Regions from separate parts of the Homo sapiens genome. Here regions 1, 2, 3, 4, 5 and 7 are each linked to region 6. Evidence: promoter capture Hi-C in human tissues and cell types (Jung and others, 2019). All regions are on one chromosome and are shown on one strand. Each heading gives the region's core, a stretch centred on a gene start or on the middle of the fragment in contact. The rest is flanking DNA. Distances are from core to core; before and after follow the strand shown. Region 1 overlaps KYAT1-SPOUT1 (KYAT1-SPOUT1 readthrough). Region 2 overlaps ZER1 (zyg-11 related cell cycle regulator). Region 3 holds the start of DOLK (dolichol kinase). Region 4 holds the start of NAIF1 (nuclear apoptosis inducing factor 1). Region 5 holds the start of PHYHD1 (phytanoyl-CoA dioxygenase domain containing 1). Region 6 holds the start of ODF2 (outer dense fiber of sperm tails 2). Region 7 holds the start of TBC1D13 (TBC1 domain family member 13).

Evidence for each region. The method cuts DNA at HindIII sites, captures the fragments that hold promoters and counts their contacts. A contact is called where the count stands out against the background at its distance.
Region 1: a contact is called between a fragment that was not itself captured here and the fragment with the promoter of ODF2 in region 6, in 1 of the 25 tissues and cell types used here (dorsolateral prefrontal cortex).
Region 2: a contact is called between a fragment that was not itself captured here and the fragment with the promoter of ODF2 in region 6, in 1 of the 25 tissues and cell types used here (dorsolateral prefrontal cortex).
Region 3: a contact is called between the fragment with the promoter of DOLK here and the fragment with the promoter of ODF2 in region 6, in 3 of the 25 tissues and cell types used here (dorsolateral prefrontal cortex, hippocampus and small bowel).
Region 4: the fragment with the promoter of NAIF1 here is called in contact with the fragment with the promoter of ODF2 in region 6 in 1 of the 25 tissues and cell types used here (dorsolateral prefrontal cortex).
Region 5: the fragment with the promoter of PHYHD1 here is called in contact with the fragment with the promoter of ODF2 in region 6 in 4 of the 25 tissues and cell types used here (adrenal gland, dorsolateral prefrontal cortex, lymphoblastoid cells and 1 more).
Region 7: the fragment with the promoter of TBC1D13 here is called in contact with the fragment with the promoter of ODF2 in region 6 in 5 of the 25 tissues and cell types used here (dorsolateral prefrontal cortex, lymphoblastoid cells, mesenchymal stem cells and 2 more).

Annotation. Positions count from the first base shown.
Region 1 is chr9:128,868,079-128,871,569 of GRCh38, forward strand. All of the region lies in intron 1 of KYAT1-SPOUT1 (KYAT1-SPOUT1 readthrough), which reads right to left. All of the region lies in intron 1 of KYAT1 (kynurenine aminotransferase 1), which reads right to left. Among named protein-coding and RNA genes, the nearest start is that of KYAT1, 12 kb to the right of the region's middle. The HindIII fragment of the contact is 5,668 bases long and covers 1-3,491 here.
Region 2 is chr9:128,760,952-128,764,480 of GRCh38, forward strand. All of the region lies in intron 1 of ZER1 (zyg-11 related cell cycle regulator), which reads right to left. Among named protein-coding and RNA genes, the nearest start is that of ZER1, 9.2 kb to the right of the region's middle. The HindIII fragment of the contact is 8,053 bases long and covers 1-3,529 here.
Region 3 is chr9:128,945,614-128,949,141 of GRCh38, forward strand. DOLK (dolichol kinase) reads right to left here and starts at 1,990. Exons shown (of 1, transcript NM_014908.4): 1 at 1-1,990. The coding sequence starts at 1,690. The coding sequence ends at 74. NUP188 (nucleoporin 188) reads left to right here and starts at 2,086. Exons shown (of 44, transcript NM_015354.3): 1 at 2,086-2,138. The coding sequence starts at 2,107. RefSeq lists enhancers at 750-1,312, 1,313-1,874, 1,736-1,805, 1,875-2,436, 2,156-2,205. The HindIII fragment of the contact is 11,289 bases long and covers 1-3,528 here.
Region 4 is chr9:128,065,836-128,069,737 of GRCh38, forward strand. It overlaps NAIF1 (nuclear apoptosis inducing factor 1), which reads right to left and starts at 1,485. Exons shown (of 2, transcript NM_197956.4): 1 at 756-1,485. The coding sequence starts at 1,266. SLC25A25 (solute carrier family 25 member 25) reads left to right here and starts at 2,397. Exons shown (of 11, transcript NM_001330988.2): 1 at 2,397-2,745. The coding sequence starts at 2,485. RefSeq lists enhancers at 1,344-1,673, 3,424-3,503 and a silencer at 2,124-2,693. The HindIII fragment of the contact is 18,346 bases long and covers 1-3,902 here.
Region 5 is chr9:128,918,374-128,922,231 of GRCh38, forward strand. PHYHD1 (phytanoyl-CoA dioxygenase domain containing 1) reads left to right here and starts at 2,609. Exons shown (of 13, transcript NM_001100876.2): 1 at 2,609-3,295; 2 at 3,557-3,674. The HindIII fragment of the contact is 13,888 bases long and covers 1-3,858 here.
Region 6 is chr9:128,454,654-128,458,449 of GRCh38, forward strand. ODF2 (outer dense fiber of sperm tails 2) reads left to right here and starts at 1,353. Exons shown (of 21, transcript NM_001351578.2): 1 at 1,353-1,602. The coding sequence starts at 1,439. RefSeq lists enhancers at 426-1,162, 1,036-1,125, 1,163-1,898, 1,256-1,305, 1,899-2,634 and 1 more and silencers at 1,526-1,835, 1,966-2,065, 2,096-2,245, 2,456-2,505. The HindIII fragment of the contact is 20,941 bases long and covers 1-3,796 here.
Region 7 is chr9:128,785,481-128,788,990 of GRCh38, forward strand. TBC1D13 (TBC1 domain family member 13) reads left to right here and starts at 1,773. Exons shown (of 12, transcript NM_018201.5): 1 at 1,773-1,896; 2 at 2,854-2,927. The coding sequence starts at 1,874. RefSeq lists a silencer at 1,421-1,910. The HindIII fragment of the contact is 9,895 bases long and covers 1-3,510 here.

The DNA of each region.
Region 1 (3,491 bases), core at 537-3,036, 410 kb after region 6:
AGCTTATAATTAGAATAGTGTGGTATTACCATAAAGACAGACATAGACCCATGGAATAAAATTGAGAGCCCAGTAATAAACCCAAACATCTATGGCCCACTAATTTTTTTTTTTTTGAGTCAGAGTCTCACTCTGTTGCCCAGGCTGCAGTGCAATGGCACGATCTTGATTCACTGCAGCCTCTGCCGATTCTTGTGCCTCAGCCTCCTGAGTAGCTGGAACTATAGGTGATCCACCCACCTCGGCCTCCCAAAGTGCTGTGATTACAGGCGTGAGCCATCATGCCCAGCCTGGCCCACTGATTTTTTTTTCCTTTTTTTCTTTGGTGAGACAGGGTCTCATTCTGTAGCCCAGGCTGGAGAACAGTGGTGTGTGCAATCACGGTTCACTGTAGCCTCGACATCCTGAGCTCAGGTGATTCTCTCACCTCAGTCTCCCAAGTAGCTGGACATTTTTTTCTTTTTTTCCTTTTTTTTGAGACAGGGTCTCGCTCTGTCACCCAGGATGGAGTGCAGTGGTGCGATCACGGCTCACTACAGCCTTGTTCTCATAGAGTCAAGCAATCTTCCTGCCTCAATTTCCTGAGTAGCTGGGACTACAGGCACATGCCACCATGCCTGGCTAATTTTTTTTTTTTTTTTTTTTTGAGATGGAGTCTTGCTCTGTTGCCAGGCTAGAGTGCTGTGGCACGATCTTGGCTCACTACAACCTCTGCCTCTGGGATTCAAGCGATTCTCCTGCCTCAGCCTCCTGAGTAGCTGGGACTATAGGCGCACACCACCATGCCCAGCTAAGTTTTGTATTTTTAGTAGAGACGGGGTTTCACCATGTTGGCCAGGATGGTCTCGATCTCCTGACCTCATGATCTGCCCACCTTGGCCTCCCAAAGTGTTAGGATTACAGGTGTGAGCCACTGTGCCTGGCCAATTTTTTAATTTTTTGTAGAGACGGGGGTCTCACTATGTTGCCCAGGCTGGTCTCAAATTTCTGGACTCACGCAATACAAAGGCCTTGGCCTCCCAAAGTGCTGGGATTACAGGTGGGAGCCACTGCGCCTGGCCTTATTGATTTTTGACAAGGGCACCAAGCCTGTTTTTTTTTGAGATGGAGTCTCGCTCTGTTGCCTAGGCTGGAGTGCAATGGCACAATCTCGGCTCACTGCAAGCTCTGCCTCCCGGGTTCACACCATTCTCCTGCCTCAGCCTCCTGCATAGCTGGGACTACAGGCGCGAGCCACCACGCCCGGCTAATTTTTTGTATTTTTAGTAGAGACGGGGTTTCACCGTGTTAGCCAGGGTGGTCTTGATCTCCTGACCTCATGATCTGCCCGCCTCGGCCTCCCAAAGTGCTGGGATTACTGGCGTGAGCCACCGTACCCGGCACCAAGCCCATTTAATAGAGGAAAGAATAGTCTCTTCAACAAAGGGTGCTGGGACAACTGGATATTTACATATAAAAGAATGAAGCAGGAGTTTCACCTCGTTCCATCTACAAAAATTAACTCAAAATAAACCAACAACTTCGAAAATTTTTATTGCAGAGATGGGGTCTCACCACGTTGCCCAGGCTGGGCTTTAACTCCTGGCCTCTAGCAATCCTCCCGTTTCGGCCTTCCAAAGTGCTTGGATTACAGGTGTGAGCCATTGTGCCCAGCCTGATCACATTCTTGATAATGTACTTTTTTTTTTTTTTTGAGACAGAGTCTCACTCTGTTGCCCAGGCTAGAGTGCAGAGGCGTGATCTTAGCTCACTGCAACCTCTGCCTCCTGGGTTCAAGCGATTCTCCTGCCTCAGCCTCCCGAGTAGCTGGGACTACAGGTGTTCGCCACTACGCCCAGCTAATTTTTGTATTTTTAGTGGAGACAGGGTTTCGCCATGTTGGCCAGGCTGGTCTTGAAATCCTGACCTCAGGTGATCCCCCCGCCTCAGCCTCCCAAAGTGCTGCAATTACCCGGGCCCGGCAGATAATGTTCTTTGGTACACAAAACTTTTTAATTTTTATGAAGTCCAAATATAGAAGTACCTTACAACCTAGCAATTTCACTCCTAGGTATATACCCAAAAGAACTGAAAACATATGTCCACACAGAAACATGTACACAAATGTTTATATCAACAGTATTCATCATAGCCAACAGGTGAAAAAAACCCAAATTGTCCATCAATGGATGAATGGATAAATTGTAACATATCTGTACCATGGAATATTATTCAGCCACAAAATGGAATGAAATATGTGCTGACACATGCTGTAACTTAGATGAACCTCAAAAATATATTAAGTGAGGCCAGGGCGACATGGCTGATGACTATAATCTCTGCACTTTGGAAGGCTGACGTGGGAGGATCATTGTTTGACACCAGCCTGGGAAACACGGCAAAACCTTGTTTCTACAAAAAATACAAAAATCAGCCAGGCATGGTGGTGTGTGCCTGTAGTCCCAGATAATAAGATGGCTGAGGTGGGAGGATCGCTTGAGCCTGGGAAGTGGAGATTGCAGTGAGCTGAGGTCATGACACTGCACTCCAGTCTGGACAACAGAGCAAGACCCTGTCACAAACAAACAAACAAAACACACTAAGTGAAAGAAGCCGGACAAAAAAGGTCACATAGCTATGATTCCTTTTCTGTGAAATATTCAGAATAACAAGTCTATAGAGACAGAAAGCAGATGAGTGGTAACCAGAGGACAGGGAGGAGGTAATGGGGAGTGACTATTTGATGGGTACGGAGTGTTTTCCTAAGGGAACGATAAAGTTTTGAAACTACAGTGACATAATGTTTGTACAACATTGTGAATGCACTAAATGCCACTGAATTGTATACCTTAAAATAGTTACTTGTATGTTAGGTGAATTTCACCTCAATTACAAAAAAAAAAAAAAAAGTATGGTAATTTTTTAAAAGGGTTGAAGAACAATATAACCCATTTACATTTTTTAAATTGTAGAGACAGGCTGGCCGCGGTGACTCACACCTGTAATCTCAGCACTTCAGGAGGCAAAGGCGGGTAGATTGCTTGAGCTCAGGAGTTCGAGATCAGCCTGGGCAACATGGTGAAATCCCATCTCTACAAAAAATGCAAAAAATTAGCTGGCCACGGTGGTACGTGTCTGTAGTCCCAGCTACTCGGGAAGCTGAAGTGGGAGGATTGCTTGAGCCCAGAAGGTTGAGGCTGCAGTGAGCCAAGATTGTGCCACTGTACTCCAGCTTGGGAGACAGAGTGAGACCTTGTCTTAAAACAAAACAAAACAAAACAAACAAAAACAAACAAAAAGGGCAGGTTGAAGAACAATATAACTCTATTTGCATTTTTTTTAATTGTAGAGAAAGCTGGATGTGGTGGCTCACACCTGGAAAGGTGGCTCACACCTGTAATATCAGCACTTTGAGAGGCCGAGGCAGGAGGACTGGAGCTCAGGATTTCCAGACCAGCCTGGGCAACATAACAAGACCTTGTCTCTACAAATAATTTTTTAAAAATTAGCTG
Region 2 (3,529 bases), core at 405-2,904, 310 kb after region 6:
GATCAAGACCATCCTGGCTAACACAGTGAAACCTGTCTCTACTAAAAATACAAAAAATTAGCTGGGCGTGGTGGTGGGCACCTATAGTCCCAGCTACTCGGGAGGCTGAGGTAGAAGAATGGTGTGAACCCGGGAGGCGGAGCTTGCAGTGAGCCGAGATCGCGCCACTGCACTCCAGCCTGGGCGACAGAGCCAGACTCTGTCTCAAAAAAAAAAAAAAAGGGAGGGGGGGATAATAATCTCTACTTCACAGGGCTGTGGTACTAAATGAGATAATGTTGAAGAAATGCTTAGTCCCAGCCCAACAGACTAAGTACACAACATGGTGGTTATGACCCCACCTTTTTTTTCTTTTTTCAGAGTCTTGCTCTGTCACCCAGGCTGGAGTGCAGCGGCACCATCTCAGCTCACTGCAACCTCTGCTTTCCAGGTTCAAGTTATTCTCCTGCCTCAGCTTCCTGAGTACCTGGGACTACAGGCACCTGCCCCTACACCCGGCTAATTTTTGTATTTTTAGTAGAGACGGGGTTTTGCTATGTTAGCCAGGCTGGTCTCGAACTCCTGAGCTCAGGTGATCCACCCGCCTCGCCTCCCAAAATGGTGGAACTACAGTCATGAGCCACCATGTCCAGCCCTATGACCCCATAATTTGTTTTTTTTTTTTTTTTTTTGAGACAGAGTCTCACTCTGTCACCCAGGCTGGAATACAGTGGTACGATCTCGGCTCACTGCAAGCTCCGCCTCCTGGGTTCATGCCATTCTCTTGCCTCAGCCTCCCAAGTAGCTGGGACTACAGGCGCCTGCGACCACGCTCGGCTAATTTTTTGTATTTTTAGTAGAGATGGGGTTTCACCATGTTAGCCAGGATGGTCTCGAACTCCTGACCTTGTGATCCGCCCGCCTCAGCCTCCCAAAATGTTGGGATTACAGGCGTGAGCCACCGCGCCCGGCTGACCCCATCTTATAGAGGAGGAAACTCAAGGTCAAACAGAGGGAGCTGTGTAAACTAGACTGGAACCTGGTCTCGTGGAATCCCTCACATCTCTTAGAGCAAGCTTGTCCAACCTGTGGTCCATGGGCTGCATGTGGCCCAGGACAGCTTTGAATGCAGCCCAACACAAATTTGTAAACTTTCTTAAAACATTATGACATTTATGGACTTTTTTTTTTTTTTAGCTCATCTGCTGTTGTTAGTGTTGGTGTATTTTACGTGTCGCCCAAGACAGTTCCTTTTCCAGTGTGGCCCAGGGAAGCTAAAAGATTGGACACCCCTGACTTAGAGGGTTCTGGAGTTCTGGGGCCCAGCATTGTCCCAGCTTCTGGGAGCCTCCCTCTGTGCCCATTTGTAAACCTTCCAGACTGCTCAGGAAATCCAGCGGGAAGCCACAGGGCACACTGGGCTTTGGAATCAGCCAGTTCTGAGTTCAACTGTGGCACCACTGTCTACTGGGGACTGTGTGTGGATGGGCTGTGGATTCAGGCAGGCATAGCTCACATTTCAGCCTTGCTGCTCACGAGGAGACAAACTTGGGCAAGTGTCTCCACCTCTCTGTGCCTCAGTCACTTTTCCTCTAAAATAGAAGCAGCACAATACCTCATCCCCAGCACGGTGTGAAGATTCCATGGAATAATATCAAAAGGGCTTAGAACGGTGTCTGGCATGTAGTCATTGCTCAATAAAGACAACCGTTATTATGTTGTTGTTATAATCATTACCTTCTCCTACCTCATCTGCCCTGGCTCCCAGCTCCGGGCCTGTGCTCCCCGGCCTGGGTCTCCCACAACAAGGCTCATTGTGTCAGCTGTCCCACTGGCAGCATGGCACCCTCGAGGGAAGGCACAAAAGCCAGGATGCCTGGGCCCCGGGCATGGCCTTCCTTTGCCTTCATTTGCTTCAAGATCTTTAAGAGCCCAGCAGCCTCTCTTGCCTGGGAAACTGGAACCAGAGGGAGCACTGCTGGCAGAGAGTCCCCACTCTTGGAAAGCAACTCTTTTCAAGCCCACCGGAATTACAGCCAGCTTTCTGGCCTACTTGGTCCCCACTGCCCCCCTACTCCAGCCAGCCTGGCCTCATCATTCACTGTCCTGGCAAAAGGCCCTCGGCACAGGTCACCTTCAGACCTTTGCCCAGTCTGTTCTCTTTCAACCAGGACCATCCAAATTCAACTAATTACTGCACTTTCTAATTTAAATACTGCCTTCTCCCCTCCCCTACCCAAATACACTCCATGTCCTTCCTCCAGGAAGTATCTCCTGGCCACTCCAGCCCACATGATCTTTGAACTCTCCTTTCACGTAGCTGATACCTATGGTCCCAGTGTCAAAGTTACTTCCTCTGGGAAGCCATGCTTAACCCACCAGGGTGTGCCTGCTGAGTCCCCCCACAGGCCCGATCTACCACAGCAATGAACACTTGGTACGATGTGGCTTTGATGATTCAGCATCCTTGATGGATGGCCAGGTCCATGAGGGCAAAACCAGGCTGTCTTGTTTGGTATCACCTCCCTGGACCTGCTCACTCAGTCCCTGCTGAGCACTGGGGGTCCTTGGTGAGCGAGCCGGACAAGGTCCTTGACCACATGGAGCGTACTGGCTCCGGAGGGAGACAGATCCACCTACAGGGCCCATAAGCGCCTGTCGCGTAACTGGGACCAGTGTCTTGCAGGAGAAGGGGCCTGGGGCTCTGGATGCCCAATCAGGGGACTTGCCCTGGACTGGGGAGTCAGAGCAGGTATCCTTAGAAGTGACATTTCAGGCCAGGTGCAGTGGCTCACACCTGTAATCCCAAAACTTTGGGAGACTGAGGTAGGTGGATCACCTGAGGTCAGGAGTTCGAGACCAGCCTGGCCAACATGGTGAAACTCCGTCTCTACTAAAAATACAAAAATAAGCTGGGCTGGTGGCGCACGCCTGTAATCCCAGCTACTCGGGAGGCTGAGGCAGGAGAATTGCTTGAACCCGGGAGGCGGAGGTTGCAGTGAGCCAAGATCACACCATTGCACTCTAGCCTGGGCAATAAGAGCAAAACTCCATCAAAAAAAAAAAAAGAAGTGACATTTCAGCTGGGACCCAAAAGATAAGTCCTAGTTAACTCTGGTGGAGGGGAGAGAAGGGGAAGGCGCTTTGGGAGGAAGCAAAGAAGTACCTAAGCTGCAAGGAGAGGGGGTGCATGGGACGTTGGCACTACGGGCCCAGGTCCATGACTATTTGCTAAATGAACAAAGGAAGCACTGAACACTCAATGTGGGGCCTGCCACAAGGTGAGGTTTCAACAAAGGCCTGTGGAAGGAATGACAAAGTACTCGCCATCAGAGGTCTGCACGAGGCCTGGGAGGTATAGTACACTCTCGCATTCTCCCTGCTTGCTGCACTCAGGACACTGCTGGGCGCCCAGTGGCTGCAAATGATGCCTCTTGGCTCGGAGGCTCTGAATGAGGGAGAGCCACTGGGGTTTTGCCTTTTCTGCAGGTCTGAGCCCAGTTACCTAGGCAGCTGCTCTGCCCTTACCATGCTCCCCAAGTGGAAGAAA
Region 3 (3,528 bases), core at 740-3,239, 490 kb after region 6:
TAGCTGTCTGCTGTGGGGACTGTTCACCCTCCCCATGTCTGTTTCCTCCGTCACTGCTGCTGCACTGTAACAGCTAGGCCATCAGCAATATCAGGAGGTAGAGAGGCAGAAGGAGATTGTCTATCTGTGTAGTGTATGCTTCCAGGAGGGACACAGTGCTGATGGACCCCAAAATCCAAGCATAACTGTAGTTTAGGTCCACTCCACTGTCAAAGATTAAGATCAGAGCTACAGAAATGATCTGCGCAAATATAGATGTCATGGTCCCCTCAAAAGTCTTTTTGGTTCCAGGCCAGCGGATCTCCCCCATGGTGCTACCGAAGATGGAGGCCACAGTATCACCCACACCCACAGCCAGGACACCGGCATAGGGGACGAGGGCCCTGGCTCCTCCCAGGCTACCCTTCTGTGTGCAGGGTCTGGGGATCAGCCAGATGGGAAGAGACATGCCCAGGAGCAGGTAGATGTGTGTCAGAATGAGTGGTCCACTGTCTCGTTCATCCAGAAAAAGGGACAGGAAGCTCCGTAGAGTGTGACCCAAAGGCTTGATGCGGAAGTAGCGCACATACTCCAGGAAGATGAAGACCGCCAGGCATACAGTGGCGGCTACATAGAGCAGTGGCCGGTCAAAGATGATACCTGGGATGTAGGTGGCTACCACAATGAGGTGGAAATACTTTCGGGCGATGGTGGGGGCCTGGTGCTTCTTGGACTCGGAAGATGACCGCTTGGCATTCTGGTACAGCACCACCAGGCAGGCCAAGGTGGCCAGCAGAGACCAATAGGCTAGGAGGTAGATGCGGGTGTCTGTCTGGAAGAGAAACTGAAGAAGCCAGAGCAGGGGATTCCTGCGGATGAGCCGGTGCAGCCAGGGTAGGACCACACCAAGGCTCAGCACACAGGTCATGAGGTGGAAGAAGATGGAGGAGGCCCAGGTGCCTGAGTCCATGAAGACAAACAGAGTGCTGAAGAAAATGCCCATGAGTACCATCCCTACTACCACCACCAGCAGGAAGAAGTCCACTGGGTCCCCCTGACTTTCCACCAGTGTCAGAGAGCGCTTGATGAGCTGGTTGAGGACAAAGCTAATGCCACCCAATACCAGCAGTGCCTCACCAGGGGTGAAGCAGCGGGGCAGCAGGTACAGCAGGATCATGTTGAGATAAACGAAGATCAGAAGGACTTCCAGGACTTCGATCACCTCCCCCACGCTCAACGAGTGCTTCATGATATAAATGATAACACCTCCAGCCAAGCCCAAGATGACACAAGTGTTGGTTGGCACTGGGCGAGTGATGCCGAGCGCCAACACTGATGAGAAGAGGGCCACTGCCATGCCAGTGGCTGCCACCACAATGCCAAAACGCTCAAAGAACGGGTTCCCAGCAGTCTGGCACCGCTCCTTCATGACTAGTCCAAGCAAAGGCATGACCATGGAGGCGGGCAATAGGCCACTGTTTGCGGACATTCGGAACTGGAAGACGGCGCTTCCCTGCTGTAGCAGCCGGTCCCACTTGTATTGGACGTAGAAGGCCTGCACTGCGAGGGCCACGGCGCACCACGAGTATCGGTCCCATACGGTTGCGTGGATGCTCAGCACCACTGCAAACACTACTGCCGCCTCTGCCAGCACCGATCCACTCAGCGGAGCCCCAGGCCCCGGGGCCGGAGATGGGCACTCTCGGGTCATATCTCTAGACCTGGGGCTTCACGGAGGCCGGGGCGACTACGGACGCCCTAGACTTCGGGCCCCTCAGCCCCGTCAAGCAGAGGGAGGCACTTTCACCCGGCCAGCAACCTTCTCCCTCCGTTCTCCAGCAGCGAGGAGGGAACTCCACCGCAGGTCACTTCTGCGGCCTGGGAGCTGGCGCCCGGCCACCCCCCACAGCCTCCAACCTACGGCGTAGACGTCGCCACTCTGCAGCCTTCCTCACAGTTACAGCCGCCCCCGCTGCCGGCTCCTCACCTCTTTGGGCCTCGCCATCTTGGCACCGCCCCGCGGCAACGTCACGTGACGAAATCCCCGCCCACGCTCCGGGTCCGGGGGCGAGCGGTCACGTGGGCATGGCGTCTGGGGGCGGGGTTAGGGCGAGCGGGCGCGCGAAGATGGCGGCGGCCGCCGGCGGGCCGTGTGTGAGGTGCGGAGCGGGTCGAATGGACCGGGGTGGCTGTGAAGCGCGGTGTCAAAGCCGAGCGGAAGCGGGGCGGGAATTGGAGGCGGGATGTGGCGACAGTGGCAGGGCCAACCCCGGCTGGATGGACGGGCACCGAGACGGGAGGCGGTTACGTCCAAACGGTCCCCGCGCGCGGGGATCTGAAGAGTCTTCTTCAGGAGGGGGGCCGGCTCTTCACCCCTTCCCTCCGCGCTCGGCCTCCCATCTCCTCACCCAGGGCCCTTTGCCTTCCTCCTCTCTCACCTCCGACGCGTCTCTTGGCGCCCCACCCGCGCTTCCTTCTCCGGCCGTGACGCTCCCTCGAGCCACGGGGAGCTTTGCGGTCTCCTGGGGTACCCCCCACCCACGTCCCTGCTGCAGGCTCCCAGTGTCCTGCCCCGGCGTCGAGTGCGCCCTGCTGGCTCCCCGACCTCTCCCGCGATCTGTTCTTGTTAGGATTTTGTTTCGCGTTGAGCGGAGCCACGCTTGCGGCTTCTGTCCTCTCCGCGCCTCGTATCGTTCTTTTCTTGCACTGAATCAAGTCAGCCAGCATGTCCAAATCCTCCAAGAGATTTCAGGGATTGAACTAGGCTTTAGGGACAAGAAGATGAAATATTATATACGAAAACTACAATTCTGACAAAGTGCTTTCTAGCGTCAGACCCTGGTGGAGCGCTTCCCAGGAGTTATCTCATTCAATTCTCGCAACTCCGAGAGGCGCCTTCTATTTCACAGATGACTCAGAAGTCCGGCTCAGAGCTAGCCAAGTGATAAAGAGAGCCTTCAAGCTGAAGTCTGCGTACCTCCAGTGCTATAACCAGACCACCACGCCTCCTTCTGTCTTCCACATTGCAGCTCGAAGGTCTTCGTTCTTCCCACCACCCTCCCTCAAAGTTAAACATCCCCGTCTCTTATCCTTCCCTGTGCCAGCAGTGTTTTCCCCACTTTTTTTTTTTTTTTTTTTTTTTTTTTTTTTTGAGACGGAGTCTCGCTCTGTCGCCCAGGCTGGAGTGCAATGGCACGATCTCGGCTCACTGCAAGCTCTGTCTCCCGGGTTCATGCCATTCTCCTGCCTCAGCCTCCCAAGTAGCTGGGGATACAGGCACCCGCCACAACGCCTGGCTAATTTTTTGTATTTTCAGTAGAGACAGGGTTTCACTGTGTTAGCCAGGATGGTCTCGATCTTCTGACCTCATGATCCGCCCGCCTCGACCTCCCAAAGTGCTGGGATTACAGGCATGAGCCACCGTGCCCGGCCCTAACAATATTATTATATAACAAGATTACTTTCCAAAAATTTAACAAATCGTTTTGTATATTGAGATTTTTTGCTTTTAGAGAGCAGACAAAATGGCTATGAGGCAGTGTACAAGTT
Region 4 (3,902 bases), core at 235-2,734, 390 kb before region 6:
GGGCCTCCGCGCATGTGGGAGAGGTCAAGCTCCTCCACCCTTCAACGCCAATGTCAGCTATGTGTCCTTATGCCACCAAGAAGCCCCCTTCCTCTTCCGGGGCCTGAGGTTTTCCCAACTGATGGCGAAGCTATTCCTATATGTGTCATCTCTGTCCTACTAGAACATAACTGGCCTGTATTTTAGACAACTTGGTAATCCCAGTGCCCAGCACAGGGTTTGGTACAGAATAAGTGCTAATGTTTGATGAATGAATGAATGAATGAATGGAGTAGATTAACACCAGGAACCATGAGGCTCCTGAGCAGCACCTGATGAAAGATCCCCCACACTGAAAACAGAATCCAGAATCGTTGTCTCACTTGGGCAGTATTATTCCCATCAATTTTTTCAACAAATATGGCCTGGCTGTCTACTACAAGCCGGGCCCTGTGAAAAGTCCTGTGGGGATACAGACACGGTCTCTTGTTTTCAAGGACCACCCAGTTCGGCAAGTGGAGGTAAGTCATGGACAAACATGGTGGCAATGCTCAGTGGCGAGCTATCCAGCACGTCAGAAGTCCAGCCCACGTGCTGAGGAAGTCCCAAAGAGAGCAAGATCACTTCTGTCTGGGTGCTGCTCTTGGAAGGCCTCATGGTCTTCCAAGACCCCCATCTGACCTCTGACCCTTGGCAGCCAACCTTCCCCAGGCCACCCCAGAGCTTGCTGGCCCTTCCCACTTATGCACGCCGCCTGGGCAGGAGAGGTCACTCACTCTGTGTCAGGGTGACCGTGGCTGCGGCTGCGGTGGCCGAGGGTCCGAGGGCCACAGGGTGGATCTCTGTGGTGCTGGGCAGGCTGATGATGGTGGCCTCGCCCAGCAGGTTGCAGATACGTTGTTGCATGGGGGTCAGCAGCACTGGGGCTACAGCTGGGCCACCGCCACCACTGCCACCGCCTGTCCCAGGCCCCCCAGCTCCGTCCTCCTCAGTGGGCCCCGGCGCCTCACCACCCTCCACGGCGGCCCGGACCTGGGCAACCTTGCGACGGACCTCGGTCTTGAGGTCAGACCACTTCTTCTTGACCTCAGGCAGCTCTCTGCGGCAGGTGGCCACGGCGTTGACCCTTCTCAGGATGCCGTGCCAGGCCGCACTCTTGGCGGCCAGGGGTACCCCGGCGTTGAAGTGGTTCACCAGCAGGTGCTTCTTCAGCTCCAGCTCCTCCACGATGATCTCCACCTCCCGCTCTGAGAAGTTCATCTTCCTTTTCTTGGCTGGGACGGCCATGGCCTCTCCCCTCCCCTCTTTTTAAAGAAATTATAATCCCCTCAAGCGCCCCAATTCCCCTTCTCTTCTTCCTCAGCCTCGCCCCTCACCCACCCCCTACAGGGGATAGGCCAGGCTTGCTCGAGGCCAAGCACTAGGCCTTTGGTAACCCCCCTCGCTACGCAAAGTGCGTAGGGCCCAGCCCCGACCGGCCCGGCCGCTGCCAGCCAGCAGCGTAATGGCTTCCTGAATCTGCCTCTTCCGCCGAGGTGTGCGGAGATCCGCCCACTTCCCCTCTTCCCGCCTCCCAGCGCTTCTCCGGGAAAACCGGCCTTCCCGGTTGGTAGCTGCTCAAATATCACGTCGATCACTGGTTCTTTCGATCTGTCGCTCAGCTAAAGAGCACGCCTGCTTACTGTAATTCGCCTGATCATTGGTCTAAAATTGTGTCCGTCGCCCAGAGGGCCCCGCCCACCTAACCTTTATTCACTTCCATTGGAAAATCATTCTGTCGTTCAATTGTCAGTATTACGACTATTAAGCCGTTAAATTCAGCTATTTTATTGGTGGTTTAGGGAGTTAGATTACCAAAACCCTGCTTCCTGAGGATACTTAGTGCTTTCGGCCGTGACCCATGGGTCAATTAACTTTTAATTCCTCCCACCGGCACAAACTCTGCCTCGCAACTGCAGTTCACAAATGCTCTCACACAAATCCTGTTTCCCACTGGAGGCTACGATCTCTCCGTACACTACCGCTCCTCCCATCCTTAAGATCCCGCAGTCTAAACAGAGTTAGTTCATCAATGGAAACTGGACACGGGGCCTTCCGCCTGCCAATCACATTACTCATGCCTATCGCTGCGTGATTTTCTCTCTCTTGGCCCCCGGCTCAGCCAATCCCCGCCTCCCTCAGTTTGAATCGGCCCCAGGCGGAGCCGGGTGACCCCGCCCACCCCATTGATCCGGGTAGTCCGTGGCGCGTGGGCTGTCCTTAGACAGGCTCCGCCCCTCCCTCCTCCCCATCCGAGCCTGTGACTGGCCTTCGGTGCGCCCGGGCGTGGCCGGCGAAGCGGGGCGCGGAGGGGCGGGGCTCCCGGAAGCCGCCCCTTCCGCCAGCTTGCCGGCGTCTCCGAGCCCGCGCTCCCAGCTGCAGAGCGCCTGGCTTGCCTCCCGCGCGGTCACCGCCGGCCCGCCGCCCCCGCTCCCGCCCGCGCCCGGAGCCCCTGCCTCGCGCCCGATGGTGAGCAGTGTGTTGTGCCGCTGTGTGGCCTCCCCGCCGCCGGACGCCGCCGCCACCGCCGCCTCTTCGTCTGCCTCATCGCCGGCGTCCGTGGGGGACCCCTGCGGCGGCGCTATCTGCGGGGGCCCGGACCACCGGCTGCGCCTGTGGAGACTCTTTCAGACGCTCGACGTCAACCGGGACGGCGGCCTGTGTGTCAACGACCTGGCGGTGGGGCTGCGGCGCCTGGGACTGCACCGCACCGAGGGCGAGCTCCAGGTAGGCTGCGCGCGTCCTCAGCACTGGCGGGGAGGGAGCCCCTCGAGGGCCGGGTGACAGGTCTCGGGGGACGGCCCCTTGGGCTGGGCGGAACCCCCACTGTCCAGAGGAAGGGTGCCCCCTGACTCACTGAGGGACACCCCACTTATGCCCTGGTGGGAGCGGGGCTCCTTCCTGACTTCTTTGGGTGCTTGAGCCGGGTTCTTCGTGGACACAGGTGGGCATCCTATGGGCTTTCTGATGGGCGAAAAGCCCTTTCTTGCCCAGAGTAGAAGGCCAGGTCTCAGGAGTGTGCCTTTGTCACCTCCTGACCTCAAGGCCAAGCTGGACGCTCCCTTCACCCAAGGATGGGTTCATCCATCAGTCCCCAGCAGCACCCCCTCCTTTCCCTCTCGTTTCCATGCCAGCCGTGGGCCCTGATCTGGTTCCTCTCAGGAACATGTGGGAGTTGAAAAAAAAATTGGTATTGGGGTTTCAGGCTGATCCGTGTGGACGTTGGCGGCGAAGACTGACAGTTCTCATGGTTTAGGCTCATCTCCATTGCCCTGTTTATCCAGAAAATGGGATCGTGATCCCCGCGGGGTTGGAGTGTGGACGGAGTGAAAGAATCCGGGGGAAATTTTTTTTCTAAAAGTCAAAGCGAGATTGTTACTATTGTGGGCTCTTGGCCGAGGTGTGGGCATAGGGGCGCAGAGAAATGGTCATCCCTGGGCCTGCCAGGAAGAGAAGTGCTGGCCTTTCTGTATGAGAACCTCAGAGCAGAGGCTGTTTCTTTCCCTTCTGTCTCTTCCCCCTTCAGTCTGACTTGGCGGGTGTAGCTGCCATTTTCCCAAGTATTTCATTTACTGTAGCTTAGCCTGATTTACAGCCTGGAATAGGACTCCTGAGTACTTTACCTAAGAACCTGTTTCACTGCTGAGTTAGTTTGGTCCATTTGTACACATGACAATTAGAGAATCTCGTAGCCAAGTATGAAAAGAATCTGGTAAACCGCCAATGAATTAAACCAATTTGTTGGGTGGGTGTACATAGGTGTTGTTAACTCATGTTCAAGATTCTTGGATCAACATCCAAGGTATTTAGCGCTAACTATTAGGATCAGCCTAGGAGGACCAAGAGTAACACTACGCAAGATAGAATGGTTAAGTCCAGGAGAT
Region 5 (3,858 bases), core at 1,359-3,858, 460 kb after region 6:
GGAATATAGTGGCGTGATCACGGCTCACTGCAGCCTTGACCTCTCCAGGCTCAGGTGATCTCACCTCGGCCTCCCAAGTAGCTAGGACCACAGGGGCATGCTGGCTAATTTTTTTTTTTTTTTTTTTTTTTTGAGACAGAGTCTTACTCTGTCACCCAGGCTGGAATGCAGTGGCTCGATCTCGGCTCACTGCAACCTCCGCCTCCCAGGTTCAAGTGATTCTCTTGCCTCAGCCTCACGAGTAGCTGGGACTACAGGTGCCTGCCACCATGCCCAGCTAATTTTTGTATTTTTAGTAGAGACAGGGTTTCACCATGTTGGCCAGGCTGGTCTTGATCTCCTGACCTTCTGATCCACCTACCTCAGCCTCCCAAAATGCTGGGATTACAGACATGAGCTACTGCGCCCAGCCGTGCTGGCTAATTTTTGTATTTTTTGTAGGGACGGGGTTTTGCCATGTTGCCCAGGTTGGTCTCGAATCCCTGAGCTCAAGAGATCCACCCACCTCAGCCTCCTAAAGTGCTGGGATTATAGGCGTGAGCCACCGTGCTTGGCCCCTCATGAGTTTTGATGGGTGGGGATGGGAGAGGAGGGCACTGGAATGGGAACCAGTAGTCCTGGGCCTTTGTCCCAGCTTCATGGGACAGGATGTGCATGAAGCTAGGCAGATCCCTTCTCCAGTGGCCTCTGTATCCCCATGTGGACAATGGGAATTTCCACTCTGTGCTCTCAAAGGTCCCTTGCAATTCCAACAGTGAGTCCCAAGTGGTCTACAGAGGTGGGGCTGAGAGTCATCGTGGGGAAGCCTGCCTCAGCTCCCAGCCCCTTTGGGGGCCTTTGGGAGGTAGTGTGGTAAAGGGCAGAGGCTGAGACAGCTGCTTCCAGATGCCAGTTCTGCCGTGTTTGATGTGGGGCTTCAGTGTTCTCATTTGTAAAATCAGGAAGGTAATGGCACACTTGCAGGACTGTTCAAGGAACAATGGCGATTATGTAGGTAGATGGGGTTTTTGGTGGAGGACCTGGCTGCTAGTACCCAATAAATGGCCTTGTATCTTCCACCCAGACCAAGGATCCTTGTGGTGGGCCAACGTGGGCGCCCTGCGGCAGGAGACTGGGTGAGGAAGAAAGGCCATCATATCTGACTTTGACCTTAGTGATGAGGCCTGGGTGGCTGCTTGGGCACCTCCTCTACAACTGGACAGAGTCTATCCCTCCTCCCTCCACGGGGACTCTGACCCCTCCAGGTGAACTCAGGCCTGAGCCAAGATTCCCTCCCTCTTCTCCCCCTGCCATGGGCTGACAGGCTGAGCAGCTGGACTGTGACTGCCGGGCTGGGGCCTTCTTTTCTGTTTCCGTGGTGGAGGTCCCTCCCCCAGTTTGGTACCCTTCCCACCACCCCCCGACCCCACTCCCGCCCCCACCCTGGCCTTGAGGCTGTCCAGCGCCTGGAGCAGGAGAGTTCGATCTGGAGCTGGTTTACATTTGGAAAAAACCACCATGTAGAAACACCGCCCACCCACTTCCCAAAGTTGAGCAGAATGAACAGTTAGTGGGAGGCTGGGCCTCTCCCCTCCCCCTCCCCCACCCACCCAGGGCTCTCCACTCTGCCTAAAACCACTGTGGTGGTCTTCTCTCTGATTGTAACAGCAATTTTGGAAGCTCAAAAAAATTGTTTAAATTATATTCCACCCAGCTGGGCGCGGTGGCTCACGCCTGTAATCCCAGCACTTTGGGAGGCCGAGGCAGGCAGATCACAAGGTCAGGAGATTGAGACCATCCTGGCTAACGCGGTGAAACCCCATCTCTACTAAAAAATATAAAAAATTAGCCAGGCGTGGTGGCAGGCGCCTGTAGGCCCAGCTACTGGGGAGGCTGAGGCAGGAGAATGGCGTGAACCCGGGAGGCGGAGCTTGCAGTGAGCTGAGATTGCGCCACTGCACTCCAGCCTGGGTGACAGAGCGAGACTCCATCTCAAAAAAAATAAATAAAATAAAAAATAAATAAATAAATAATATTCCACTCAGAACAGCCCCTGCTAACATTTGGTGAACAACTTGTTCACCAGTTGGTAGGCACTTACTCAGCGCCAGGCCTGGTGCCAAGCTCTTTATCAGCTGCGAAGCATTCATCTTATTTACTGCTCACAGGGGATCCTACTGCTAGCCCCAAATTACAGACTGGGAAAGTAAGGCCTGAACATCTGGGACGCAAACACAGTCTGCTTCACTGAGTCTCTACTACAAGCCTTCTGTGGGGGCTCCCAGGGGAATGGCTGGCCCAGTCCGAGGGGACCTCAGTGTTCTTGGCACATGGTAGGCATCTGTCTTTGTTGGGCAGTTGCATCAGAAGGGTTAAGGACAGCTGGGAACACATCCTGCCTCTAGTGAACCTCGTGGTTCTGTCATCTGCCTGCCCCTCACCCAGCCTAACCCCTCTGAACCAGGAGCCTGAGCTGCACTTACTGCTCCCCCCTGCCCCCCGGACGGCCTGGACCAAGCAGCAGCTCCCAGAGCGGTGGCCCAGCAAACACGACTTGACTCGAGGCCAAGGCTCTTGAGGGCTGAGCAGTGTCCCCATGCACACTCCTGAAACACTTTGTCCCTTCGCCATTCAGAAGGCATCATTTTGGGGAAGGCAGCAGCCGGTTTTTCAGAGCCAGCGAGTGGCCCTGCCAGCTGCTGAGCAGGGCAAGCTGAGAAGGGTGGTGGTGTGCAAGTGTTATTCTCTCTTTTTGTTTTTGTTTTTGTTTTTTGAGATGGAGTCTTACTCTGTCGTCCAGGCTGGAGTGAGTGCCGTGGCATGATCTCGGCTCACTGCAACCTCCGCCTCCTGGGTTCAAGCGATTCTCCTGCCTCAGCCTCCCGAGTAACTGGGACTACAGGCACCTGCCACCATGCTCGGCTAGTTTTTGGTATTTTTATTTATTATTTATTTATTTATTTTGAGACCGAGTCTCGCTCTGTCGCCCAGGCTCTAGTGCAGTGGCCCAATCTCGGCTCACTGCAAGCTCCGCCTCCCGCGTTCACGCCATTCTCCTGCCTCAGCCTCGCGAGCAGCTGGGACTACAGGTGCCCGCCACCACGCCCGGCTAATTTTTTGTATTTTTAGTAGAGACGGGGTTTCACCGTGTTAGCCAGGATGGTCTCGATTTCCTGACCTCGTGATCCGCGCGCCTCTGCCTCCAAAGTGCTGGGATTACAGGCCCGAGCCGCCGCACCCGGCCTGCAGGTGTTGTTCTGACCCCAGCTCCACTGTGCCAGCCCGACTTGAGATGCCAAGTATCTTGGGCCTGAGGGTGGGTAACAGGAAGCATCTCTCTCTCCTCAGCCCCTTCCTCCTACTAAGATACCCCATGTCTCCTACTTTCGTCTGAGCTGCAGATGGATGCGTTAATTCCCTTCCATAATCCTCCCAGGACCGAGAGGGTTTCAGATCGGTGCTGGGAGGGGCCCAGATAGTTCTCCCCAGGACCTCTTCCACCTTTGGAATGCCCATTACCTGGAGAAGGGGGGTGCCGCACATCCCCCAGACCAACCCTGCATCCCATTCTATCCAGATTGAGGCCTAGAGAGAGGCAGGCGTTCCTCAGAGTCACAGGGAATGGCGGCGCCTGGACTGGGACTCAGCCCAGCTGCTTGGCCTGACCCTCTCACAGCATAATTTCCCGGCACCTGGTAAGCAGTGGTGGGGGGTGGTTTCCAGAAGAAACACAGAGGAAGCAGATAAAATCCTTGGAGATGGGAAAGGGCAAATCCTGGATTAGTTGTGGGGGTGGGGGAGATTAGCCTGGAGGTCACAGGCTGATCTGGCTGTGTCTAGGGAAGGAGGGTTGGGTGGTGGGACCGGGTTTTCTCCGGG
Region 6 (3,796 bases), core at 103-2,602:
CCTGCCTCCTCCTCCCTAGTAGCTGGGATTACAGGCACACACCACCATGCCCGGTTAATTTTTGTATTTTTAGTAGAGACGGGGTTTCGCTATGTTGGGCAGTCTGGTCTTGAACTTCTGACCTTAGGTGATCCGCCTGCCTCAGCCTCCCAAAGTGCTGGGACTACAGGCGTGAGCCACCGCAGTCTTAAATGGTTAATGAGGATTAGGAAATCTATCAATTATTCAACAGAGAGACAATGAATGGATCAAGGGATTGGGGAGCTCCCTGACATTACAGAACAAATTCAGTATGCAGTATACTGTGAAAGCGAGGCGGAAAAGCAGGTTTTGTTTGCGAGTCTGACTTTAGGATTGCAGGTGAAACACTTGTGTGACCCTGGAGCTGTGTGGCTAAGGTGCTGCGGGGTCACTGGAGAAAGGTCAAGGGACTGTGGCCCAGTTGGCCCGGAGGTGGTTCAGGTCTCCCAGATTCCAGGGCGGCATTATGAGCCACGTGACAGACCTCCCCTGACTGGCTGACAGTGAAGCATAATTGAGAAGATGGCGGACCAGCAAGGACCTCATCAGAATAGGTCTGTACACAGAGCGGCATAGAGAGTGCAGGAGGGTAGTAGACCGGGCGCGGAGGCTCAAGCCTGTAATACAAGCACTTTGGAAGGCCGAGGCGGGTGGATCATGAGGTCAGGAGATGGAGACTATCCTGCCCAACACGGTGAAACCCCGTCTCTACTAAAAATACAAAAAAAAATTAGCCGGGCGTTGTGGCGGGCGCCAGTAGTCCCAGTTACTCGGGAGGCTCAGGCAGGAGAATGGCGTGAACCCGGGAGGCGGAGGTTGCGGTGAGCCGAGATCGCGCCACTGCACTCCAGCCTGGGCAACAGAGCAAGAATCTGTCTCAAAAAAAAAAAAAAAAAAAAAAAAAAAAAAAAAAAAAAAAGTGCAGGAAGGTAGTGAACAGAACAGCAAGGGGAATGCCGACCCTTTCTCCTGTTGGGGCCAAGACAGAGGCGATGTGGGCAGGGGAGAGGCCGGGGAATGCGCAGAAGCCGACTCCATCTCCGCATTAATAGTGGACTAGGGGCAGGGCTGGATTTTCGGAGGCAGTGTGCAGCTCCCAATAACTAGTTCCATGGGTCCTCTGTGAGCCTAGTTTCCTGGTGGGTACCGAGGGGAGGGCGTCGGAACCGTACGCTCCTTTGAGTGAGGGGAATCCGGGAGGATCCAAGGCAGGGGAAACAGGGCCGAGCGGGAAAGGCCTTGAATGGGGGGCGAGACCCGGCCAGGCCCGCTGGACGCGTAGCACGTCTCCTTGGTGACGGGACGCGTGGCCCGGAAGTGGGCGGCCCTTCTGGCGGGGCGGGGCATCTCTGTGACGCTAGGGGCTGGGCCTCGATGGCGAAACCCAAGCGGCTCCCGGGGGGGTTTGAACTGGCCAATGGGCGAGCTGCCGACCGGGTGTCGGAAAAGGAGGCGGAAGCGGGGAGGAGCCGCTGCCAGAGCCAGACTGCATCCGCCGCGGCGTCTCCATGGCACGACCCTGGCCTCCGACTTCAACGACTTCATAAGGCGGCGTTTCTGGGCGCAGCCGTGTCGCTCCTGGTGAGAGGCCGCCGGCAGGCGGGATCCAGCGCCCTCCGGGGCACCGCGGGCGAGACCGTCGCCTTCGCACCCCCGGCGCGGTCGACCCCGCGGGGCCGTCGGGTCCTGGGTTCCCCGCCGCGTTGCGCTCGTCCCCCTCCTGTCAGAACCTGGGCCCCCGCCCCGCCCACCGGCGCGGGGCCTCTCCTCCTCCCGCTAACGGGCGGTCGGCCGCCTCCTTCCTCTCTTGGCTACCACGGGGCTCTGCCCCTCCTCTGCCGCCCGCGGGCAGGGCTTCACCTTTCTCTCTATGGGCAGAAACCGGTACCCTCCTGCCTGCTGGTGGGTGGCCGTCCCTTCTCTCCGCCGACAGAGGCTCTCCCTCGCTCTGCTGCCCGTCGGCGGCATCGCCCCGACCGCCTCGTCCTCTCCTCGGGCCTCCACATGGCAGTCACTTGTACGCCCTCCGTAGGCAGCGCTGTCCCCCGGGCACCGTCTCCGGCTTGCCAGGGCCCTCGCCCGGCGGGGGGGGGTCCCGCCCGCCCCCTCCCAGCCCGGCGTCTATCCTGCTCAGAACTCTGTTCGGTTTTCCCTCGCGGCGGGGCGCCCGGGGCCCGTGCAACCTCCGCGCCTCCCTCCTTTAAACACTATTGGTCCTCTCGGGCATCTGTTCTTCCGTAACGCCCCTTCTCCTAGGAGACAGTTGTCCGGCCCCGCCCCAGCATCCCCGCGGCTCCCTGCGCGGTTCTGGCCCTCTGGGGCCCACTTGGGGCCGAGCGGTTCTCACCCGCCCTCTCCGCACGTCCGCCGGCGCCTCAGGTTTCCCCCGGTAGCCACCGGCAGTCCTCCGCGTGGGACCCGGGCGCGGTGGTCCTTTCCCTCGCGGTTCTGCCCCGTCCCCTCCCCTTCCTCCCCTCTGCCCCCAGGTCGCTCAGCCTCTACTATTTCCCCCTACTTTGGCAGGACAGTTGCTGTGCGACTTGGACAGTAGAGGAGCGCCTCCCAAGTTTTCATCCAACTGCCAACCCCAAAGCTTCCACCCTTCTCCCCTCAGAGAGGACGTTTGATGCCGGGCCCCTTGAGAGGCTCATTGACAAGCCTGCCCCTCTGGGTCCCCCTGAGCAGAGCCTGCTGACCCAATTGCCCACCTTTGCGGCTTTGATGCCTAGCCATGTCTGCCTCATCCTCAGGCGGCTCCCCCAGGTATTGCCGATGTGGGAGGCGCCTGCGCCGGAGGGCAGGGAAAGGTGGCCAGGGGTCCCCAGGGCAGGCTCGCCTGAGGCTTCCAGCTTCCTCATTGTGTTTGCTGAAAGTCTGGACCAAAACGTTTAAAAATCGTTTTTAAAGGGAAGGGGGAACGAAATGTATACACAATCCTAGCTCTACCTCCCTCGCTCCTTCCCTCCCCAGATGTCACAGCTTCCTGGAAGCAAACAGGGTCACTCTTGTTGTCTTTATATAATAGAGTACTAGGTTCAGAGCCTTTTTGAAGGGAGTCGAGGTGTAAATAAATAACACGTAGGAGGTGGATGTGGCAGTTAGCAAGATAATGGAATCCAGGTGGTTTGACAAGAAACCCACTGAGAGATTTCCCAAAGCTATTGGCTTTACGTGAACAATGTTCTAAATGATTAGGGAAAAAAGCCTGTCTTCTCAGTTTTGGTATTCCTTGGCTAAAGGATCAGTAGAGGTCTATATATATATATATATTTTTTTTTTTTCCCCTCTTTTTAAAATCACGATGTAATACATATACAGCAAAACGCATACCAAAGTGCTCAAGTATTTTTTTCCTTGCATTTTGATGTTGCATTATTTTCCCCAAGTGTTTGTAAAGAGGGCAAGATGATAATTTTGGACCTCCCTGTCTCTGCCCCACCCTCCCTGCCACCCCCTGGTCGCTCCAGCCTCTCTGATCTCCCCCCACTTTGGGGGGCCAGGTGCGGTGGCTCATGCCTGTGCAATCCTAGCACTTTGAGAGGCCAAGGTGGGTGGATCACCTGAGGTCAGGAGTTTGAGACCAGCCTGACCAACATGGTGAAACCCCGTCTTTACTAGAAACATAAAAAATTAGCTGGGCATGGTGGCACACGCCTGTAATCCCAGCTACTCAGGAGCCTGGGGCAGGAGAATTGGAGAATTGCTTGAAGCCAGGAGGCAGAGGTTGCAGTAAGCCAAGATTGGGCCACTGCACTCCAGCCTGGGCGACAGAGCG
Region 7 (3,510 bases), core at 523-3,022, 330 kb after region 6:
GTCTCAAAAAAAAGAAAGAAGAGTATATATGCATAGCAAACGTGTGAAGAGATGCTCAACATCATATGTCTTTAGGGAAATGCATGTTAAAGCAGGAGATACCACTTCACATCTACTAGAATGTCTAAGATTAAAAAGACTGACCACATCAAGTATTGGTGAGGACGTGGTACAACAGCAACTCTCATATACTGCTGGGGTAGGTGTTAAATAATACAACCATTTTGGAAAATATTTAAGCACTTTCTTTTCTTTTTCTTTTTCTTTTTTTTTTTTTGAGATAGAGTGTCGCTCTTTCGCCCAGGCTGGAGTGCAGTCGTGCAATCTCCACTCACTGCAAGCTCTGCCTCCCAGGTTCATGCCATTCTCCTGCCTCAGCCTCCCGAGTAGCTGGGACTACAGGCACCCACCACCACGCCCGGCTAATTTTTTTCTTTGTATTTTTTAGTAGAGATGGGGTTTCACCGTGTTAGACAGGATGGTCTCGATCTCCTGACCTCATGATCCGCCCTCCTTGGCCTCCCAAAGTGCTGGGATTACAGGCGTGAGCCACCGCGCCTGGCTAGCTGTTTCTTTCTTTTTTTTTTTTTCTCAAGAAAAAGGTGTTAAATAATACAACCATTTCGGAAAATCTTTAAGCAGTTTCTTTTCTTTTCTTTTCTTTTTTTTTTTTTTTTGACAGGGTCTTGCGTTTTTGCCCAGGTTGGAGTGCGGTGGCGCTATTGGAGTGCGGTGGCACTATCTCGGCTCACTGCAAGCTCCGCCTCCCGGGTTCAAGCAATTCTCCTGCCTCAGCTTCCTGAGTAGCTGGGATTACAGTTGTGCGTCACCACACCCGGCTAATTTTTGTATTTTTAGTAGAGACGAGGTTTCACCATGTTGGTTAGGCTGTTCTCAAATTCCTGACCTGGTGATCTGCCCGCTTCAGCCTCCCAAAGTGCTGGGATTACAGGCGTGAGCCACCACGCCCGGCCTACTCAACTAATTTTTACATCTTTTGTAAAGAAGGTAATCTCGAGGAGCTGGGATTACAGGCGCCTGCCACCACGCCCGGCTAATTTTTGCATTTTTGGTAGAGACGGGGTTTCACCGTGTTGGCCAGAGTGGTCTCCAACTCCTGACCTCAAGTGGTCTGCCTGCCTCGTCCTCCCAAAGCACTGGAATTTACAGGGATGAGCCACCGCGCCCGGTCCAGCCTATTTTTCTTAAGATATCATTTGTGTTTTTTTCTTTCTTCCTAACTTACATTTTATAGGGTTTGCTGGTATAGTTTTTATAAAAAAAAAAAAAGTTGGGCCGCGCACGGCGGTTCATGCGAGTCCCTGCTATACAGGCCTTGAGGATTCTGCAGAGACCAAGATAAGCTGGGGGGCCTGAACAGTTTAGCAGGGGAGGCCGAGACTCCTGTAACAATCATGCAGTAGTTAATTACAGGGGGGTGAGTGCAGGGAAGACGACAGGGTGACAGGTATATTGCGTAAGTAGACACTGAGGCCCAGGGAAGCGCAAGGAATAGTCCAGAGACACACAGTCTGCGCTGTCACCGGCGGGTTCTCAAATTTGGCCCGCAGGGTCGGCGGCGCTGGGGCTCCCGGCCCGCGATTGCCACGCCCACCAGACCCGAGGTTGCCCCGCTCAACCCGGCCGGCCGTAGCCGCCAGTACCGTGTGGAAGCGTGAGAGTCGAGGGGTGGCACGTGACTGGCGGGGCGGGGCGGGGCTGAGGCGGTGGAACGCGCAGGCTAGTGGCTGTGTTTCCCGCCGGAGGCTTTTGCGCAGAGCCCCGCGTCCCTGGGGGGCGGCGGCGGCGGCGGCAGCGCAGGCGGCAGAGGCGCAGGCGGCGGAGGCGGCTGGGGGGTCCGGAAGTCAACACCATGTCAAGTCTGCACAAGAGCCGGTAAGGGGCCATGGGGCCTGACCCGGCTGGGCCACTCCTGGCCAGGCTGCCCCTTCTGCCCCTCAGAAGGGGGAAGCGCGGGTGTGGCCAGGAATCGGCAGACCCCCTCGGCAGAGGGTCTCGAGCGTCCACCTTCTAACCTCATTGCCTGTGGGCTGCAGGAACGACGGAGGGGCGGCCCTTCTCCTGCCCCTGATGTCACTGCTTCTGCCTCCCTCATCCTGGACCCCTGGTGTCCCCCTTCCCCTGAGTCTTCCTCATCCAGACCCCCATGCCCCGCCCCCGTGCCTTTCCCCCTTTTGATCCCCCTGCTCCCGTACTCTCTCCAAGTGCACCCTGTCCCCCGTGCCTTTTTCTTACTAGGATTGCTAGAGAACTTGCATTCTCCAGTCTGGCCCCTCCCCCAGGCCAGATCCTGCAGCATTGGCTGAATTTTGCTCACTCTTCAGTTTTCCTTCAGGACGTGTTTTTTAAACCCTTTGTCCTTGCCTTCTGGCAGGCCCAGAGGTCTTGTAATGGTTATATTTGTGAGCATGGTCCATTGTCTGCATATCAAATTACTCCTGGTTCCTGAGGTCCAAGGAGTTCAGTTGGTGGCTGTGCGTGGACCCGGCCTGGCCGGCAGGAAGTGCCCAGTAAATGTCAGCTCACTAAGTATTAGAATGTTGGAATATGTCTAATTTTATGGTCCTCATTTGGGAACTTCTAGACAAGAATATCTCTCAAGTTTCTTCCCTGGCATTCTGTGTTTCTGGTTGTAGAGGAAGAAGTGAAATATAGTTTTGTTGTTCTCCAAAGCTGTCTTTGGTGAGGACCTTGACTAAGCTGTGTGATTTTTATGTCCTAAAGGGGAGAGAGGCACAGGTTGGAAACTGGCAGTGTGAGGGAGCTGAGGGCTGTGGGTCTCACTGAGCCGATATCAGCATGCTTCATTTGCCGCCCTATCTCCCCTTCCAGAATTGCAGATTTCCAGGATGTCCTGAAGGAGCCCTCAATTGCATTGGAAAAGCTGCGGGAACTCAGCTTTAGTGGTAAGAAGCCATTCTGTATTTTCACGGTTTCCCTACAGCAGCCCTGTGGCTAGAATACAGGGGGAGGCCACACCTGGTCAGCTCTGGGGCCCAGCTGCTGGGGGCTGGGGCCTTGGAAGGAAATTACACACAGACTCTTGGGGCCTTTTCCAGATTCTGTAGAGCTGAACAGGCAGTGACTGCCTTGAGCTTGGAGGGGTTTCCCAGAGGGGCAGTGGCCACACTTAGCATGCCCTAAGCTTTCCTAAGCTTTCCGCAGGAGGTGCCAGATTCCTGAGAGTAACAGGACAGGACTGAAGCCTGGAGAATGAGAGTTGGGACCTTTTGAGCCCAGGACAGTCTTTCCTCATTCCTTAGCTAGCTTCCTGTGTTGGTGAGTTTGGTTAACTGCAGGGTTGTTCCTTGTTCTCTCCCTGGCTTGGGGTCTAAGCTGCCTGAACTAAACCTTGGCTAGTGGTAAAATGGGTAGCCTTGGGACACTGACTTTAAGGAGCTGATCCTGCTGTGTTAGACTTTGCCCCAATGAGCACAAAGATAACTCTCTTTTTGCCTGTTTTAAAAAATATCCCAACGTGTTCTGCAT